2 separate regions of the Homo sapiens genome follow, and region 2 is linked to region 1. The links are contacts of gene promoters, found by promoter capture Hi-C in blood cells and fetal thymus (Javierre and others, 2016). All regions are on one chromosome and are shown on one strand. Each heading gives the region's core, a stretch centred on a gene start or on the middle of the fragment in contact. The rest is flanking DNA. Distances are from core to core; before and after follow the strand shown. Region 1 holds the start of PTPRE (protein tyrosine phosphatase receptor type E). Region 2 has its middle 15 kb from the start of MKI67.

The links. Contacts are between HindIII fragments. The CHiCAGO score rates a contact against its expected background, and 5 or more counts as called.
Region 2: a contact is called between a fragment that was not itself captured here and the fragment with the promoter of PTPRE in region 1, in 6 of 17 cell types (monocytes, activated CD4 T cells, M0 macrophages and 3 more). The highest score is 8.1, in monocytes.

The regions. Positions count from the first base shown.
Region 1 is chr10:127,905,213-127,908,588 of GRCh38, reverse strand. It overlaps PTPRE (protein tyrosine phosphatase receptor type E), which reads right to left and starts at 1,486. Exons shown (of 21, transcript NM_006504.6): 1 at 1,280-1,486. RefSeq lists a silencer at 1,523-1,642. The HindIII fragment of the contact is 4,276 bases long and covers 1-2,611 here.
Region 2 is chr10:128,139,722-128,143,012 of GRCh38, reverse strand. No RefSeq gene overlaps it. Among named protein-coding and RNA genes, the nearest start is that of MKI67, 15 kb to the right of the region's middle. The HindIII fragment of the contact is 6,764 bases long and covers 1-3,291 here.

The sequences.
Region 1 (3,376 bases), core at 237-2,736:
TTCACACCACAGAGCTCTGCCCATACCATGCTGGCTGAGTGACCGTGGTGGTCAGACGCTTGCCCCAGCCACTGGCCCCCACCATTTCATGCCCTCCTCTGGCCATTATCCCAGTTTTGGAAACGACCCTCCACACCCCCCCTCCCCACCCACATACACACAGTTTAAATGGACAAGAGTCGTTAGTGTGCAGAGGCAGAACTTCATCCATCTTTGGGACACAAAGACCTCCAGACGCCCTGGGTCAAGGGGTACCTGGGGCCAAATGCAGAGCTGACTGGACATGGACACAGTAATTTCTGTATCACGTGATCACTCTTTGCTGGTGTTCATTCAACTCACCTATACGCTCATTCACTCTAAAATACAAGCAGAGAGCTGTATTCTTTCTTTGAGTTTCCTGGATTGAAACTCTGATGGAATGGTCACGACTCAAGACAAACCAATATCATAATTCTGCAAGTATAATTGCCTAATCTTTCTGGAAAGGTTTGCATGCCTGGAAGGAATTTAGGTCAGGTCCAGCGCGGTCTCCATCCGGCTTGGCTCTGCCTCCCCATCCTGTGGGTTGCCCGGCCTTCCCCAGATGGTCCCGGGAGCTCTCAGAATTGGCACCGCGCTCGCATCTGTGCTCAGGAGCCCTGTGAGGTCGTCGACCCTGCAAATCGCGGCAGTCCAGCCTGGACCACCTGCCAGGGTCTCCCTGCCGCATCTCCGACCCCCGGCGGCTGCTGCATCCCGCTCCACCTGCCTCCCTGGGAAGGCGCGGGCGCCCGCCCGGCTGCGGGGCAGCATCCTGGCAGAGCGCCGGCCCCTCCCAGAGTTGGCACAACTCGAGCCACTTTCTTCAAAGGCTCCAGCCTCCAGCCTCGAGTGGGCGCAGCCCCCCACGCGCGGCCTGCACCCCCTCTCTGTGTCGCCCGCTTTCACGTACGCCGCCCTGCCGCCGGCCCCCGCGCACTGTAGCCACCCGCAGACACGCGCGCCCTCCTCCTGTTTACCGAGAGGGAGCGTGAGCACTGCCACTGTGGTCGCCAAGTTGGGCTGGGGACTCCGGGTGAGGGGACGCGCCACAGGCCGGGGTCGGGGGTCGTACGGGCCCCAGCCGCTGGTACTGGGCGCGCCGCGGGGGCGGCGGGGCCGGGGTCCGGACTCTGAGCCCCGGAGCGGCCCCTCCCTCCCGCGGCAGCGGCCGAGGCAGCGCCCCGGCCTGCTTGGGCCTCCCGGGGTGCACAGTTCCCCACAGGGGCGCAGGGTCCCTGTCCGCACGCGCGCTCACCTCGGGGGGGCCGGTCTGGTCGCGCAGATCGCGCTGCAGCGGAGGCTCCGCATCTCCCGGGCGCCTGCCCGCCGCCCTCCGGGGCGCCCGGCTGTCTTCGCCGGGCGCGAAGAAGGGTCGCGGGGACGCGCAGAGGCCGTGGGTTCCTGAAGCCGCTCGCGCCGGCTCCTGCCGCCCGCTGTCCGCAGCCTAGCAGGAAATTTGTCCGGCCGGCCGCGTCCCGCCGCCGCCTCGGCTCCAGCTCCGGCTGTGGCTCCGCGGCGGGGGCGGGGGCCTGGGCGCTGCGAGGAGCGGGGGCGACGCCTGGTGCCCGGCGCGGGGAGCGCATCCAGGGCGCCCGCCCCACCTGCGAGGCGGGTATGGCCCTGAGGCCCTGCGGCCCTGCCCTGGGAGCACCCAGACACTGTGGGCATCCGTTTACTCAAGGCTGGTGCCCCTTCCGGGGAGGCCTGGTCCAGCCACTCCGCCGGGACCCAGGTGCGTAGACAGAGGGTCAGGGTATGGCAGGCACTCACACCTGGTGGAGAGCAAAGGCAAGGCCCTGCCTCTCCCTGCCCTATCCCTGTGCACCAGGAAGTGGCCTGACTAGGGACTCGCCCTGGTCTTGCAGCAGGTGTGGGACACGCAGGGCACCCCGTGCGCTTCTGGTGCGAGGAAGCTGGGAGAGCTGTGAGGTCGCTGGGCCTGGTGGCCTCCTCTGGAAAGAGGAGGGGATAAGGCGCCTGTCTGGGGGATGTAGAAGAGGGCTCGCTTGTCCCGAAGGCAGTATCTGTCAAAGTTAAAAACGCACAAAGAGAAAGAAGAGCGACAGAGCCAGGCACTGGGCCTGCTGTCTAGCCGACTTCTTCCAGGGAATTTCACTCAAGCTATTTAGGGAGCTTTCAGAGAAAAGGCAGTTCCCTGGAAGGAGCAGAAAAGACACTGGTGGCATGTTGGTTCTGAACCTTTGTGCCGTGCCCTCTGGATGGGGCCACGGCCCAGCCCTCATGAGGGAAGCTGCATTCTGTGGTAGGGACCCAGCTCATTAGGCTTATGAATGAATGAATGGATGGGGAGAAAGTGGCACTTACGGTGTGTTACCCCACGTTGCACCGATTGCCAGCCGACGACTCTTAGCATACTTAAGGCCTGTTTAGACAGAGCTACGGACCCCAAAGGCTGCAGAGCAATGGGTGCCTCCTGGCAGAGGCCACCCCCACGTGATTTGCCCAGAGTGGGACTTCCCCTCCACAGGGGCCGGAGAGCTGCGAAACCAGTGGAGAACTTGAGCTCCACCTCCCTGCCCTGCCCTGCCCATTTCTGTCCCTGGGGGCCTTGTCTAGCCCCAAAGCTTTAAACACCATCCGTATGGGAATGACTCTAAGCAGCACCACTCTGGGGCCCTCTCCTCCAAGCTCAGCTCCTCCTGGCTGTCTCCTGCTGTCTCAGACCTGCCTCTTGCTCTTACTTAGTTTCTCTGCAGTCGTCCCTGTCCCTGCCTCCGTGTCCCACCTCAAGTCCACCTCCCAGAGGGCCCAAGTCCACTTCCCACTGGCTTCTCCATGCATCTTGCCCTTTCATCTCACTGCCTGCGCCCCTCCAAAACCTGCAGTGGCTCCCCAGCTTCTGACCCACTCTCCCAGATGATCCATTCTTCACACTTGGTCCCAGGCACCTCACAAAGTGTAAACCGGGTCCTGCTAGCCCCCTGCTTAAAAGCCTCCAGGAATATTAAAACCCAAACTCCCACGAGGCTCTGCCTGACTTCCCTGGCTGCTCTGAGCCTCTCACCCCTGCCCGCTGGGCTCCAATCACGGCTCCTTTCTCTCAGTGCCAGAGCCAAGCTCCTTCCTGCCTGGGACTCCTCCAACCAGTGCACCTGGTTCCTTCTTACTGGTGGCTTCTGGAAGATCGCCCTGCATCCATCTCTTCTGCCACTCTCTTCCACATCCTCCATCACAGTTTGGAATTATTTGTGGGTTTATTGGCTCCTTTTGTGTCTGTCGTGCCCTCTTCCCCTACCCCCAGGGCTGTAAGCTCCAGCAGCCTAGGCTCTGTTGATCTCCATGGCTTCTCAGACTCAAGCTCCTAAAGCAACGTCAGTAGCCAGGAGGTGCT
Region 2 (3,291 bases), core at 342-2,841, 230 kb before region 1:
AGCATCCCAGACACTTGAGTCTTTCTTTCATTTATTTATTTATTTTTTTTGAGATGGAGTTTTTTTTTTTGCACTCTGTCACCCAGGCTGGAGTGCAGTGGCGCCATCTCGGCTCACTGCAAGCTCCGCCTGCCAGGTTCACACTATTCTCCTGCCTCAGCCTCCTGAGTGGTTGGGACTACAGGCATGTGCCACCACACCTGGCTAATTTTTGTATTTTTAGTAGAGACAGGGTTTCACCATGTTGGCCAGGCTAGTCTCAAACTCCTGATGTCAAGTGATCTGCCCACCTTGGCCTCCCAAAGTGCTGGGATTACAGGTGTGAGCCACCTTGCCTGGCCAAAAACACAATTTTTAGTAGAGACGGGGTTTCACCTTGTTAGCCAGGATGGTCTCGATCTCCTGACCTCGTGATCTGCCTGCCTCGGTCTCCCAAAGTGCTGGAATTACAGGCATGAGCCACTGCTCCCCGGCCACACTTGAGTCTTTCAGTGGACAAAAAAAATGATACTATGTTTCCTTATTGGTGAAAGAGAAAAACATAGCTCGAACAGAGGAGATGGCAATTTAAGAATATACATAACAATTTTACATGTACACACCCTCTGACTTAATAGATTAACGATTATGAGGTGACCATGCGTATTTCCCAAAGCCTGCCAGATGGCGTGTACAGGGTGGTTGGTTTTGTTTTGTTTTTTTGTTTGGGTTTTTTTTTGTTGTTGTTGGTTTGTTTTGGTTTTGGTTTGCTTATTTTTTTAAGCACAATTTTATTAAGGTCTAATTGGAATACAGAAAACTTTGTATGTGTTCAAAGTGTAAAATTTAATAAAGTTGAATGCTCTTGAAACCATCACCAGAATCAAGAGAGTGTTTAGGACCAAATGTAATTTTTAAAATAATGCTTACAGTTACAAAGTTTTCTTTCTTTTTTTCCCCCACCCTCTGTGTATGATTGTTTAAATCAAGCCAAAATTTTAACATTGATTTGATTAAAAAAAAAATCTTGCAACGGAAAAAGAGGTAGATAACGTTAAACCTAATTGGCTATAGGCGGCTTCAGAGGACAGCGTATTTACCTGGATCTCTCCTCACTGGGCACCACCGGCTACTTAGGGCCACTACGAGAATGAAGAGAGGAGGCCTTGAAAGGCTCTCAGCTCTTTGTGGAAATAAGAAAATGGGAGGACAAGTCCCCCTCTTTGTGATTTGGGAAGGTTTCCTCTTCTCTTGCCTTCCTGCTTGGTGGTGGTAATAACCCTGTGTCTGCATAACAGGCACAGTTACTAACAGTGCTGCTGTCAGCCTGTTAACGTGTGCCCCTCCAGAGGCCTGACAAGGGGTCCCTCCCTGTGTGGTCTAGGCCCTGAAACCCATCCTGGCCTTGCCTCATCCTCCCAACCCCATCCCCTACCTTGTTCCTCCCATCCAAAGCATTCCAAGTCCTTGTTCACCTTGGCATTTTTACACTGTTTGAACTTCATCACTGGAAAGTTCTCCCCACCCTCCTACTTGAGTGATTTATTTCTCTTCTTCAGATTTTAGTGAAATTCCACCTCACATCTGCACAGCTGTAGCCCCTACTGGGGAGGCTGAGGCTGTAGGATCCCTTGAACCCAGAGCATTTTGAGTTCGGCCTGGGTAAAAAAGCAAGATCCCATTTATAAAAATAAAATAAGGCCAGGTACGGTGTCTCATGCCTATAATCCATTCCAGCACTTTGGGAAGCTGAGGCAGGTGGATCATTTGAGGTCAGGAGTTGAAGACCAGCCTGGCCAACATGGTGAATCCCCATCTCTACTAAAAATGCAAAAATTAGCCAGGTGTCATGGCCTGTGCCTATAATCCCACCTACTTGGGGGACTGAGGCAGGAGAATTGCCTGAACCCAGGAGGCAGAGGTTGCAGTGAGCCGAGATCACACCACTGCTCTCCAGCCTGGGCAACAGAGTAACATTCTGTCTCAAAAAAATAAAAACAAAAAATAGCAACAAAATGAATGTCAACTCAGATGAACCCATTAATGAAAACTTGTCTTTCTTAACATACAACATCAGGAATGAATTTTGAGTTTGTTTCTCCCACCAGACTCAGTTCCCCAAGGGCAAGGACAATCTTGTTCCTATGTATGCGGGGCCAGGTTTGGTGTTCTATATATAAGATATGATCAGTACTCAGCGTTCTGGTAACTAACTGTCCAGCAGAAATGTGAGCTGGAGACTTGGTTTTGAAACCAGCAGATGGAACTGGTTCCTAACCAAGGGCCATATTGCCCCCCAGGAGAGATTTGCAAGGACAGTAGATTTTTTTCTTTGTCAGGATGAGGCAGAGGCTGGCCACTGTCTTCAGTGAGCAGAGGTCAGGGATGCTAAGTGCCCGGCAGTGAATAAGACTCTGCCCCCCACGGTGAGGCACTGTTTGGTGGGAAATGTCAATAACAGTGGCTAAGAAGCACTGATGTATAATGACCCCCTGCCAAACAATTTCTCAGTTCTATTAAGACAGTCTCTCTTTTGCTGACACGTCCTGATACCTAAAAATTAAATTACCTCCCTGGGTTTTAAAAAGCTGTTCATTTTCTCTAGCTTCCTTTCTCTTGGAAAACAACAACAACACATTTTGGTCTCAAATGGTAATCATTTTAGTTATTAGACAGTGACACTTTTGTATATTTCTATTCAAGATTTTATAATTTAGAAACCAATTTCGAAGTGTTTGGTCAGGTGACATGGTTAGGAGGAGACATTCTTCTAATCCCAAGATTTTTATAGAGAAGAGATTATACAGTTTCCTCAAACTTTTTTTTTTTTTTTTTGAGATGGAGTTTTGCTCTTGTTGCCAGGCTGGAGTGCAGTGGCATAGTCTTGGCTCACTGCAACCTTCCCTCCCAGTTTCAAGCAATTCTCCTGCCTCAGCCTCCCCAGTAGCTGGGATTACAGGCACCCACCACCACACCCCGCTAATTTTGTATTTTTGTAGAGACAGGGTTTCACCATGTTGGCCAGACTGGTCTCGAACTCCTGACCTCAGGTGATCCACCTGCCTCGGCCTTCCAAAGTGCTGGGATTACAGGCGTGAGCCACTGCGCTGGCCCATCCTGTGATTTTAAAAGTGTGAGGAAACTGGCCAGGCATGGTGGCTCACGCCTGTAATCCCAGCACTTTGGGAGGCCAAGGCAGGTGGATCATCTGAGGTCAGGAGTTCGAGACCAGTCTGGCCAACATGGTGAAACCCTGTCTCTACTAAAAATACAAAAAATTAGCCTGGTGTGGTGGCGGGCGCCTGTAATCCC